Regions from separate parts of the Homo sapiens genome. Here regions 2 and 3 are each linked to region 1. Evidence: promoter capture Hi-C in 16 types of primary human blood cells and fetal thymus (Javierre and others, 2016). All regions are on one chromosome and are shown on one strand. Each heading gives the region's core, a stretch centred on a gene start or on the middle of the fragment in contact. The rest is flanking DNA. Distances are from core to core; before and after follow the strand shown. Region 1 holds the start of PLXDC2 (plexin domain containing 2). Region 2 has its middle 28 kb from the start of ARL5B. Region 3 overlaps NEBL (nebulette).

Evidence for each region. Contacts are between HindIII fragments. The CHiCAGO score rates a contact against its expected background, and 5 or more counts as called.
Region 2: a contact is called between a fragment that was not itself captured here and the fragment with the promoter of PLXDC2 in region 1, in 1 of 17 cell types (megakaryocytes). The highest score is 5.1, in megakaryocytes.
Region 3: a contact is called between a fragment that was not itself captured here and the fragment with the promoter of PLXDC2 in region 1, in 1 of 17 cell types (M2 macrophages). The highest score is 5.8, in M2 macrophages.

Annotation. Positions count from the first base shown.
Region 1 is chr10:19,813,826-19,818,226 of GRCh38, reverse strand. It overlaps PLXDC2 (plexin domain containing 2), which reads right to left and starts at 1,795. Exons shown (of 14, transcript NM_032812.9): 1 at 1,036-1,795. The coding sequence starts at 1,147. It overlaps LOC124902388 (a long non-coding RNA gene), which reads left to right and starts at 1,999. Exons shown (of 2, transcript XR_007062078.1): 1 at 1,999-3,825. RefSeq lists an enhancer at 2,106-2,871. The HindIII fragment of the contact is 8,470 bases long and covers 746-4,401 here.
Region 2 is chr10:18,685,423-18,689,823 of GRCh38, reverse strand. No RefSeq gene overlaps it. Among named protein-coding and RNA genes, the nearest start is that of ARL5B, 28 kb to the right of the region's middle. The HindIII fragment of the contact is 3,270 bases long and covers 188-3,457 here.
Region 3 is chr10:20,853,270-20,857,670 of GRCh38, reverse strand. The region is part of intron 9 of NEBL (nebulette); the gene reads left to right. The region is part of intron 2 of LOC102725112 (a long non-coding RNA gene); the gene reads right to left. Among named protein-coding and RNA genes, the nearest start is that of NEBL, 42 kb to the left of the region's middle. The HindIII fragment of the contact is 9,153 bases long and covers 1-4,401 here.

The DNA.
Region 1 (4,401 bases), core at 546-3,045:
AGAAAAGAACAAATTGACAAATTGATTATCCTAGGGAGAAAGTTTTCGTTTTCTTTTCTTTTCCCTCCAAGTTTTTTCTTTTTTCTTTTTCTCTCGTTTCACCTCCTCTCGAAGTCCACCCTAGTTCACCAATTTCTGCCAAGATCTCTTTCTGCCTGTGTCTTCACTTTCTTCACTGAAAGGCAGAAATGGGGAGTAGGCACCCAGTTCGCGGTGGGCAGGGTTCCAGGAGGCAGCTCCCGCTCGGCGATAGCCCCCGGGGCGCAACTCCCCGCAGGACGCGCACCTGCCAGGACAGCCACTAAGAGGATGCGGAGGTTGGGGGCCCTCTCGGGGACAAAATCAGGGCACTCCAAGGAACTCTCTGCGCGTTCAGGCCTGTCTGTGAAGCTGGCAGGCGGAGGACAATGGGAGCAGGGGTAGGTCTCCAGAGGCGAGCCCGCCTCCACCTTTCCCACCTGCTCCCCACCTCTGCGCCGGCCGCATTTACCCCGCCCCCCTTCCAGCGCCCGCTTGGCCCAGGTCACTAGACGGAGCTAGTGGGGATCGCCAGGGGAAGGAAGGTGCTGCCACAGGGAATTTTCTCGTGCAGAGGGGAGACCTGCAATCCCTGGCTTTCACAACGTCCCCCACCCACCCCATACCACACACGCTTAGTTTAACCAGCAGCGAGGAAGGAGGAGGAGCCGGAGAGCACACAGCCTGGAGATGCCAGGTCCTAGGAGATGTATCCACGGAAGAAGCTTTGCTCTCACACTGAAGCCCTCCCTGGGCTACTTTGGGGAGACAGTACCACCCCCTGCCGCCCAGGTGAAGTAAGCCCGAAAGCCTCAAGAAAACCCCTAGTCCCCGGCGTCCTTCTCTTGATAACCCTCTTTCCCCATTTGGGAAGCCTAAGTTTAGCCGAAAAGCAACTGCAATAAGTTTCCCAAGGGCAGATAGGTGATGTTGGGGGGAGAGGGTAGGGAGCACGAGAGTGCCAGAGAGGTCTTCAGCTGCGCACAAAATCAGCAAGCTAAAGTGCATCTTACTTACCAAGGATTTGGTCTCCGGGTTTCCCATCGGCGAACTGAAACTGGTCCGTGAAGAAGTGGCAAAGTAACATAACTCCTGCAGCGGCCAGGTCGGCCTTCGGGAACCTCGCCATGCCGCCGCCGCCACCTCCCTACCCCACCCGCCAGTCCTTCGCCGGTGCTCGGGGGCTCCCGATGCAATAGGCACGACCGGGCCAAACGCTGCGGATCGGTCTCGGTAGGACCCGGAGGCCTTTGTAAATGTCGCTGCGATTTCACAGTAGGGAACCGAGAAGAGGAAGAAGCGAACGCGAGTAGGAGCGCAGCGCTCTTCGGACCTCTGAGGCTCTCTTTGCAACTTGCCACACTCGCAGCCCTCACCCGACACTGAACAACAACCGCGGGGAGGAGAGGCCACTTGCAGCCGAGGCTCGCAAACTGTCGGTTCCACTCGGGCAGCGCCAACCCGGTGCCCGCGGACGGTGACTTCCGAGCCCCAGCGATGCGCTCCACTGGGTTCAAAACAGATCTAATTCCACAGCCAGCGCCGCTGCCTGCCCCAGATCCACTAGGGCTGGTCGGCTCTGCAGGAACTTTCCTCTGTCTAGGGATGGCCCCGGCAGGAGGTTTAGGTTTGCGGGAAGGAGGTTGATGACGAAACCCTCCCGACAAGTTTTGCTTCTTTTCTTCGCCCGACGCAGGGCGCGCGTCCTTTCTCGCAGCCGGAGGAATGGGCAGCTCCAAAGAGCTGAGCCCTGGGAAGGTTAGGGCTGCAGCAGTCTGAGGTCCGAAGCCAGGAAAAAAATGTGTTTAAAAAAAAAAAAAAAAAAGAGGAAGAAGAAAGGAAAAGGGTGGAGTGGGAGGGAGTCACGCTGGAACCTATCGGGAGAGGGTTCCTCCGGGCTCAGGAGGAGGTGGCCCCAAGCCCCCGCGGAGCCCCAGGAGTTTGGTGGCGGAGGAGGCGCTGCCGTCGCCACGCTCCCCCGCGCTCCTTCTCCACACTTTGAGGAGGGAAGGCAGCTCGCAATTTGCCAGATCTGCCGCCGCACCCTCCTCCCTCCTCCCTCCGCCCTCCCCTTCGCTCCTCCAGGCTTCTCCCACCTTCCTCCCTGAAACCGGCAGCCCGCACAGACCTGTCCAATGGCTGCACTTTCCTCGGGGCTGGCTGAGGAGTCGCGGCCAACAGATTAAGCCGGGGGAGCCTAGCGAAGGGGAGGGAGAGGGCCACTCCAGCCCCGTGCGCCCCAGGCAGCCGGCTGCCCCAGAGCGCGGGGAGAGGGGACAGGCCGGGGAGCTATCGGGGGAGCGCGGGGCGGTACCTCCGCGCCGCCGGGGCGCCATCCTCGCAGCCTGCTCGCACGCCCTGGGCAGCTCCGCCAACTGCGCCCCACACCCACCTGGCTCCCGGGCCGCCTTCGCGCCCGACTGCGGGGGGCGATCGCGCCCCGCCCCGACCCTGGCGGGGTCTCCCTGGGCACGAAAGGGTTAACCACAGCTCGCCCCTTCGCGGAGGCTGGTTCTGGTAGTGGCTAGGGAGTGGAGAAAGCAAACCAGAGCCGGTTCGGTTACCGACTCTGCGAAGCCCCCTCGACCCCAGCCCAGCGCGGGAGGGTGGCGGAAGGTGGTGCACCGCAGCGTGGTCCCCGCCGCTGCCGCCGCGGCTTTGCAAAGTGTCAGCGGGGGCGAAAGCGAGAGTTTAAAGGAACAGGAGGCCCATTGAATTTCCTACCGGAGCTTTCAGGGGCTCTGGCTCCCCAGTTTGTTTTTGTTTTTTCAGCTCGGGGATCTGTTTCCGCGTTAACCCTTGCCGGCCCTCTCGTTAGTTGATATCTTATTTTGCATACAGTTAATCATTTTTGAAAGGGATAAATACAAGGAAAAGAAGCAAAGCGCTATTGGTTAAAAGTACAGGATCTAGAGCCCGGACAGCCTGGGCTGGAATTTCACCTCCCCCGCAATGAGCAGTTTATCTCCTAGCCTCAGTTATCCATCCATCAAATGGAGAGAATTAGAGTAACGCCCTTATAAGGTGGTTGCAATGGATTGGATGAGTTAACTGTATATTTAATAAATATAGAACATTGCCTACCGCAAAGTACATGGCTTTGTTTAAGTGTTTACTGAAGCAAAAGTGAGAGAAGACGACTTCAATCACATAATAAATGTGCATGTGTTCTAAGTTCAAGGTCCTTTCCACTCCAAGCTCTGAAGAGTCTATGGATGCTGTCAATAGATGTCTCGGCTTGCCACAAAACCCACTGGAAGTGGATCCGGATAATCAATCTACCTTTGCAAATGTGATGCTCAAAGGACGGCTCTCTCATGGGAAACAAGAAAGGTTTCCCTTAATCCAATACTCAATTTGCTCTTTATTTCCAAACAACAGATATACACGTATAAACACAAACATATATCATGCCTATACTCTTTATTATGCCAGGACCCTGGCTCTTTCCTGAGCTTTCCTCCCATAGGTTGATTTCTACTTAGGTAACTGGGTTTTTCTATTTCTGCTTAACTAGGAGTGTTTAAGTTCTATGTAATATTACATCCGAATTTGAGTACCCGGATATATACCTGCTTAAAATCAAGTTTGAAAACTGAGTCTTCTCATCAAAACCTGATTGTGCGGTTGACCCTTGAACAACAGGGGTTTGAACTGCGAGGATCCGCTTTTGCATGGATTTTCTTCCTCCTCTGCCACCCCTAACAGAGCAAGACTAACCCCTCCTCTTCCTCCGCTTCAGCCCACTCAATGTGAAGACGATGAGGATGAAAGCCTTTCTGATGATCCACTTCCACTTAATAAACAGTAAGTATATTTATCTTCCTTATGATTTTCTTAACATTTTCTTTTCTCTAGCTTACTTTATTTTAAGAATACAGTATGTAATATGTAGAACATACCAAATATGTGTTAATCAACTGTTTTTATATTATCAGTAATGCTTCTAATCAACAGTAGGGTATTAGCAGTTAAGTTTATGAGGAGTCGAAATTATACATTAATTTTCTACTGTGTGGGGGTCCGTCCCCCTGACCCCCATACTGTTCAAGGGTCAACTATAGTTTAATTGATGCCGATTCTTTTTGAGGATCATAAATCCATGCGGAAAGCGTCCCAAAATATTCTGCACAACTCCAGCTCCCATCATATCTAAAATAATGGGGAATCCAGCGGAAACCATTTCAAGAAAGCACCTCTTTTTTCAGACCGAGTTATTTCTCCTTCTTTCACAGTAGAAAAATAGGTGTTTCCTCCTCTGAGAACAAGCAAATCTCCACCTCTCCTTGCTATCATTTTCTTTCTTTTTTCCTTTATTATTTTATGTGCGTATTCGCAGGGTTCATTTTTCTTGTTACTTGCGGTCATCAATGCTTTGACCAC
Region 2 (4,401 bases), core at 573-3,072, 1.1 Mb after region 1:
GTGTTATCTGCACAAAGAAAATTTTAAATATGTATTCAGTTACCAAATAACTTTAAAACTTCTGTAATAAGAAACGTTCAAATAATAGCGAAGAGGATTCAACAGTGCAAAATAAAATCCTATTCTGCCATCTAGAGGAAACACACTGTCTAGAAAACTAATTTACCTCTTGATGGCCCCTGAAGCTTAAAGTTAGAAGAAATATTCTGTTTAAAAAGAGAGGGGAGGAGTTGTGAGAGGCTGGGTATTTTTTTCTATGCCACCATATCAGGTTTTATCAAAGAGAAGAAAATAATATTTCAAAAAGCACTTTTTAAAAAACAGCATTCACCTGTCTTCCTCTTCTGAGTCACATTTAAGTTATATTCATATTTAAACTCCTCTGGAGTTCTTTATTAAATGACAAACAAAAAAAAAAGAGAGAGAGAGAAGGAGAAGAACAAGAAGATCAAGAAGAACAAGGTCAGCTGGGTGCGGTGGCTCACACCTGTAATCCCAGCACTTTGGAAGGCCGAGGTAGGCAGATCACTTGAGGTCAGGAGTTCGAGACCAGCCTGGACAACATGGTAAAACCCCACCTCTACCAAAAATACAAAAATTAGCTGGGTGTGGTGGCACGTGCCTGTAAACCTAGCTACTTATGAGTCTGAGGCAGGAGAATTACTTGAACCCGGGAGGCCGAGGTTGCAGTGAACCTAGATTGCACCACTGCACTCCAGCCTGGGTGACAGAGTGAGACTCTGAACAAGGTCAAGAAGAACAAGAAATACATCCCTTAACTTACCGTGACATGGGTTTACTGACTGTCAGGACTAGAGAATGGAAAAAAGGAGAAGGCAGGAGAGAGAAAGAGAATGATGAGAAGGAAAAGGAGGAAGAAGAAGGCAGTGGGAAGAAGAGGAGAAGCAAGAGGGAAGAAAGGAAGAGGAGAGAGAAAAATGAGGAAGAAGAAAATAAGAAAGAGGAGGAAGAGGAGAGAGAGAGGATGAGAAGGAAAACAAACCCCAAAGCCTCTCATTTACTGATTACATATTTTATTGCTAATGCTTCAGCTTAAACTATCTTTTGTGATTGTTTACATTGTAGTTTTCTAATACCATATTAACATTTTTTTCTTTTTTCTTTTTTTTTTTTTTTTTGATGGTTTCTGGCTCTGCTGCCCATGCTGAAGTGCAGTGGTGCAATCTTGGCTCACTGCAACCTCCTCCTCCCAGGTTCAAGCAATTCTCCTGCCTCAGTGTCCCAAGTAGCTGGGACTACAGGCACTCACCACCATGCTCTGGCTAATTTTTGTATTTTTAGTAGAGACGGGGTTTCACCATGTTGGCCAGGTAGATCTCAAACTCTTGACCTCAGGTGATCCGCCCCCTCAGCCTCCCAAAGTTCTGGGATTACAGATGTAAGCCACCGCACCTGGCCCAGATTTTAAAATTTTCTTAGCTAATATATACCTACTGTTAAACAGTATTATAAACTGCAATATATCTGTTACAGGTACATTGTATTTGATTTTCAGAGCATATTACATATATGATTTTTTTAAAATCAGGAACGACTTCATAACAGAAAGGAACATTAAGAATAATCTATGTCAGCCGGCGGTGGTGACTCAATGCCTGTAATCCCATTTTGGGAGGCCGAGGTGGGCGGATCACCTGAGGTTAGGAGTTTGAGACCAGTCTGGCCAACACAGTGAAACCCCGTCTCTACTAAACATACACAAAAATTAGCCAGGTATTGTTTTATTTGTTTATTTCTTGTAGAGATGGAGTCTTACTATGTTGCCCAGGCTGGTCTCAAACTCCTGGGATCAGGCAGTCCCTCCCACTTCGGCCTCCCAAAGTGCTGGGATTGCAGGCATGAGCCACCAGGTTGCTGCACAAGCCATCTGGCTTGTTCTCCTGTTCTCTTTCTTGATCAGTGTACTGCTGACATGCATAGTTTCAATTTGTGAAAATTCCTGAACTGTCCACTTCTGGAATGTGCACTTTCCTGTACCTGTATTACCCTTCACGTTAAAAACTCGCAAATAAAATGAAAAGTTAATTTGGGGAAAGAAAAAAAAATGAGCTGTCAAGCAATGAGAAGACACGCGGGAAGTTTAAATGCATATTACCATGAAAAAAGCGAATCTGAAAAGGCTACATACTGTATGATTCTAACTATATGACATTCTCCAAAAGGCAAAATTATACAGACAGCAAAAAGATCAGTGGCTGTCAGGGGTTAGGTGGAAGGGAAGGAGGAACAGGCAAAGCAGAGGGATTTTAGAACACTGAAAGTATTCTGTATGATATTATAATGGTGAGTGCATGTTATTATGCATGCGTCAAACCCCATAGAATCTACAATACCAAGAGTAAACCCTATGGACTTTGGGTGACGATGACGTGCCCTGTAGGTTCTTCAGTCATAACAAATGTACCGCTGTGGTACAGGATGTTGACAGTAAGGGAGGCTGTGTGGGGGTGGGAGGGAATGGCAGATGGTATATGGGAACTCTTTATACTTTCTCCTCAATGTTTCTGTGAATCGAAAGGATAAAGCCTATTTTAGTCCAGGCGTGGTGGCTCACACCTGTAATCCCAGCACTTTGGAAGGCCGAGGTGGGCAGATCATGAGGTCAGGAGTTCGAGACCAGCCTGGCCAACATGGTCAAATCCCATCTCTACTAAAAATACAAAAATTAGCCGGGCATGATGGCGAGTGCCTGTAATCCCAGCTACTCGGGAGGCTGAGGCAGGAGAATCGCTTGAACCCAGGAGGTGGAGGTTGCACTGATTCAAGATCGCACCATTGCACTCCAGCCTGGGCAACAAAAGTGAAAACTCACGTCAATAAATAAATAAATAAAATAAAAATTTAACAAAATAAGAGTAAAGTCTGTTTTTTAAAAAAGGAAAGGGGTATCCCTGGCAACTGTTTGATTCTGCATTCTCCCAAACCTGCTTGCTAAGGATATAAAAGGCTTTTATTCACTCTCAGGATATTCCCAGTCACCCCATTTGTTGGGTGGGGTTTGTGTCTCATTAACTCTCACCACTAGCCTGGAGATAAAGTAACCTTAAAAGCTGGATAGGGCCAGGTGCAGTGGCTCATGCCTGTAATCTCAGCACTTTGGAAGGCCGAGGTGGGCGGATCACTTGAGGTCGGGAGTTTGAGACCAGCCTGGCCAACATGGTGAAAACCCACCTCTACTGAAAAATACAAAAATTAGCCAGGCGTGGTGGCACATGCCTGTAATTCCAGCTACTCGGGAGCTGAGGCAGGGGAATTGCTGGAACCCAGGAGGCGGAGGTTGCAATGAGCAGAGATCGCGCCACTGCACTCCAGCCTGGGCGACAGAGTGACACTCTGTCTAAAAAAATAAAATAAAATAAAGCTGGATATTGCCATTTTCCAGGCTCTCAGATTGGAGTTTGCCAGGCTCTTTTTCCTACTTTAAGTCCAGCAAGCTTGGGTTGCTATGGCTAATGTTAGTGTATTCTATCTGAATTCCCAATATATGTTCAGCTGAGGAACCCTTATTTTCCTCTCTCAGGGTTCTTCCCTATGACTGATGAGCACCACCCTGTCCCCTCCACCAGCTTTCTCCCTGCACAGTGTGTTCGGTCCATCTCTTCACTTTTCCTCCAGAAATAATAATGGTCTCACTTTGTTAAAGCAAAAGGCCACCAGTGAATATGTAAAACAGATATTCCTTCCAAAGCAAGGAAGAGTTGGGTTTATAAGGCAGTGGTTCTCAAACTTTAACTTCCATTGGAATCATCTGAAGGGCTTGTTGAACTAGATTTCTGGGCCCTTACCTTGAGAGTTTCTAATATAAAAAGTCTGGGATGGAGTCTGAAAATCTGCATTTCTAACAAGTTCCTAGTTGATGCTGACATCATTGTTTGAGAATCACTCTAAGGGTTAGTCTCTATGAGCAAAAATACGGTTTGAATGGAACACAGGGAATTGGAAGAGTTTCAATCTTCTTATCAAATTCCCCCAGTGGAAGCATGATCATTCACTTTCACTGACTGGCTGACTTTCTGAAGCATTGGCTCGTCACTGATTCGTCACTGATTGATTGTCAGAGACGTACGCATTCATGTGGGGCTGTCGTTCTTACCTGTAGGGATATAGCAAAAAGACAGTATTTTTCCTTTCTTGAATCTGGAGTACAAAACCTTTTTATTCTCAGTTTTATGGGCGCATACCCATATTGGCCCTTCCCCATCAAAAGCAGGGTTATTAGTTTCTCCCATTAAGAGAGTGCACCACAATTTGTCTTACTGGTAGGTTATCATCAAAGGAGTCTCATCTAGAAATGTAGGGGCTGGTCTACAGAGTGGGATTCATTGGAGTCACTGGAAGTTATAACTCTACTGAGGACTCCACCATTCAGCAAAATTAATC
Region 3 (4,401 bases), core at 1,421-3,920, 1.0 Mb before region 1:
GTCAGTCCTGCAGGACTCTCACTACGCTGAATGCTGTTTCAACCCATAGCACATCAGGACCCTGACTTCGCTAGCTCTCGTAACTGACAGCCCTAAGACACATTTGGCTCCATTTTGTACATCTCATGGTGGCAATGAGCTCTTATTTGACCATAAGTTATTTCCATACCTATTTTAATAATCACTTTCTCACTCACTTGCTCAAAATTAATCATAATTTATTGAATATCTGCTTTGGGCCAGGCATAGATTAGATGCAGAAATATATGTTGGGGAAGACATGAGAAAAAATGAAGATAGTTGTCTTCAGTTGATGGGCCTAGACTTAGAAATCTATAGGCAAAACTTAGTTTCCAGACAGTTAAATAAGGAGATACAGCTTCAGGTCAATTTTAGAAATAATCTATACTTGGCTTCAGTGTTTTGAAATGTATGTTTATTATTTTGTAAGCCTCCTTTCTGGAATATCACTGCCACTGTCTTCCTTCCTTAATGGTATTATGCATGCAAATAATTCATACAGAGTTTTTAAAAGTTTATTTTTTTCTGGCTGGGCATGGTGTTTCATGCCTGTAATCCCAGCACTGTGGGAGGCGGGTGGATCACCTGAGGTCAGAAGTTCAAGGCTAGCCTGGCCAACATGGTGAAACCTCGTCTCTACTAAAAATACAAAAATTAGCTAGGCGTGGTGGTGGGCATCTATAATCCCAGCTACTCAGGAGACTGAGGCAGGAGAATCATTTAAACTTGGGAGGTTGCTGTGAGCTGAGATGGCACCAATGTGCTCCAGCCTAGGCAAGAGTGAGACTCTGTCTAAAAAATAAATAAATACATAGAATAAAATAAAATAAAAATAAATTTATTTATTTTTTTAATCATTGGTCCTTGGATGAAAAGCAGTACATTAATGTTCCCAGGCTATTGAACAGGGAATGGAGGTTAGAGGAATATCTGGAGGGCCCAGAATTGGCAGTCAGTTCCAGGACACTTACATCATGCTGGCTTGCACTTCAGTCTTCATTCCCACACCTCTTTTTACATTCCTCTATTCCTTGAGTGTCTCTATTTCTGTCTTTTTTCTCCACGACTCATAGATATGCTTCTAAAATTGATATATTTCTATTCCCTGAGCCCCCTGCTTTCTTCACATTCATTCTTTGGCATCCAGTTTTCATCATGGCAGTGGCATTTGCCCTTGACCTTTCTCTAGCCATACTTAAATTCAATTTCCTAGGGACATGGGGATTCATGTGTAAATAAGCCAATAAAAATATCATGGTGGTAATTTCAACATTTGGTGGCTGGAAGAAAGCGTGCCACTCCTATGCAATATTGCTTTTCAAGAACGTTGACCTTTATTTTATAATAACAGAGAAAAAAATCGCAGTCTAATATAAATTGTTTCTATCATCTCTTCAACAGAGAAAACACAGCAAAGTCATACGTTACTTATTTCATGTATCATATATAAAGTTTAGATCTTCATTTAGGTGGTGCTTTTGCCTAGAGGACAGATTTCTTTTTCCCCATAGACAAATTGTGATTGACTACTTCCTGGGAGAGAAAGACTTAAAAATGTGTTCCTTTTGAAGTGTCTCCTTACAAAGTTGTGTACATTGTATAAAGCTGTATACATTTGCTCAACTTTATTGTATATTAGAATGGCCTCCTTTATCTAGCATTTGTGAAGAAACAAAGAATAGCCTACTTTAACATTTTAATGTAAAAAATTGGAGTTGTGTTGATTTATAAATTAAAAGATTGAATAAGATTGCTCAATAAGAGATATTCTGCCAAAATTATCCATTTGTCACAGTAGCTATTGTTTTAAAGACCCCTAGATGTCTTTAGCAACATCAGAGTTACTTTTATTTTAACCCAAACTCTAAAGAGTGATATGAGTGCCTTAATTACTGTGTAAAATCATTCTAATTAAAGTTTTGGAAAACATTTTCCCCTGGAAAATGGACCTCTGGTAGTGTTGAGTTTCTTTCACAACTTTACATAAATTAAGAAATATATATTTTGTGTTACTCCGTGTATCTCCCACTAGGAGGTAGCAGAGACTGTTATATAAGGAAAGACACGCATTCGAAGTTCTTTTGCAGATCTTAATTCAATTAAGTTTTCCTTCGTTTTTTTTTTGTTTTGTTTTGTTTTCTTAAATAGGAGTTTCTGAAATTCTTTGTAACTAAAATCGATAATTGTGTTGGGAACAATATTTACTGAATTTTTCAGTATATATTCATTATTTTACATATATTTATATGTATTTGTTGTGGATTTTAACTCAGTAATGGACTATGTTGTAGCTTGTTACATTCATGATTATTTTATAAATACATATTACAAGATAACTTCTAATCAAATTATAAAGTCTGTATTATTATCTTTCTTTCCAGATTTTAACTGGTTAAAAAAAAAACACTTTTTTTTTTTTTTTAAGACGGACTCTCGCTCTGTCTCCAGGATGGAGTGCAGTGGCACGATCTCAGCTCACTGCAACCTCCGCTCCCAGGTTCAAGCGATTCTCCTGCCTCAGCCTCCTGAGTAGCTGGGACTACTACTACTAGGTGCACCCCACCACTCCCAGCTAATTTCGTATTTGTAGTAGAGATAGAGTTTGACCATGTTGGCCAGGGATGGTCTAGATCTCTTGACCTCATGATCCGCCTGTCTCTGCCTCCCAGAGTGCTGGGATTACAGGTGTGAGCCACCGCGCCTAGCCAAAAAAAGGCTTTTTTAAAAAAACATTAGAGGAGCCAAAATTTATAACTTGTTTCCTTCCATCACGATGTACTCTGTGGGCTAGGTGCAGTAGCTCCTGTCTGTAATTCCAGCATTTTGGGAGGCCAAGGCAGGAGGATGGCTTGAGGCCAGGAGTTTGAGACCAGCGTGGGCAGCGTAGTGGGACCCTAGCTCCACAAAAAATAAAGAAATTAGCTAGGCATGGTGACATGCACCTATAGCCCCAGCTACTTGGGAGGCTAAGATGGGAAGATTGCTTGAGCCCAGGAGGTCAAGGCTGCAGTGAGCCATGATCCCTCCACTGCACTCCAGCCTGGGTGACAGAGCAAGACCCTGTCCAAAAAAAAAAAAAAAAAAAAAAGTACTATATGAACATTTTCATGTCCTTCCTGGGGGGTGCTTTCCTCCCTGATTTTATTCTGGTTAGGTTTGGGGGAACATATATTGCAGCTCCCTAATTGAGTGGAAGCACCTGAGGCCAGGCTCCCTCTGGGGACTATTGCTTTGTCCCACTAGAAAGGGTAGCTCTCTTGTGGCAGGCCACTTGGTCATCTGTTCCATTCCTAGCACTGAGCTTTCTTCCTCTTTCACTCTGAAATCCCTGGAGTATCCCCTAAGATCAAAATGCAAATTTCCTTATGGCCAGCTCTTTCCCGCTCCCTTTCAAATACTGTTTTTGGATCCCTCCACTCTATTGCCATTTTTACTGGTACCCCATTGTCTAATAAGCAGCTATCTTTAGCTTCTTAAGTCTCTGTAGCCTTGAGTCTTTAAGAGCTACCATTTACTACTAAAGGTCTTTTCCAAATAAGGCAAAATAACAAAGTGTCCAATCTCCAATGATAGAAATCATGAAATAATTATTTTTAAAATTTTCTAATTTATAATTGTTATTGATACATAATGGTTGTATATATTTATGGGGTAAATGTAATGTTTTGATACAGGCATACAGTGTGTATTGATCAAATTAGGATAATTGAGGTATCCATCAGTTCAAGCATTTGTCGTTTCTTTCTGTTAGGAACATTTCAATTCCACTCTTAGTTATTTTAAAATGTACAATAAATTATTGTTAACTATGGTCACCCTATTGTGGCATTGAATACTAGATCTTAAACTCATTCTCTCTAACGGTATTTTTGCACTCCTTAACCATCTCCACTTTATCTCCTCTCCCCACCACTCTTCCCAGCTGCTGGTAGCCATCATTCTACTCTGTCTTCATAAGTTCAGCCTCCCGAGTAGCTGGGGCTATAGGTGCATGTCACCATGCCCAGCTGATTTCTTTATTTTTTGTAGAACTGGGGTCTCACTATTTTAGCTCCCACATATGAGTGAGAACATGTGAAATCTGTTGTTCTGTGCCTGGCTTATTTCACTTAACATAATGACCTCCAGTTCCATCCATGTTGTTGCAAATGGCAGGATCTCGTTCATTTTTGTGGCTGTATAGTATTCCGTTGTGTATATGTGCCACATTTTCTTTATTCATTCATCTGTTGATGGACACTTAGGTTGCTAATGAAACAATTTTTGTCATATTGCTGCCTGTTACATTTAGCTTCTTTCAGTGGCCAAACTTGGCATCCCTGTTCAATTTGGTGTCTTCCAAATTCAACTTTTTGTCTATATGTCCAAATAGTAGCCTTC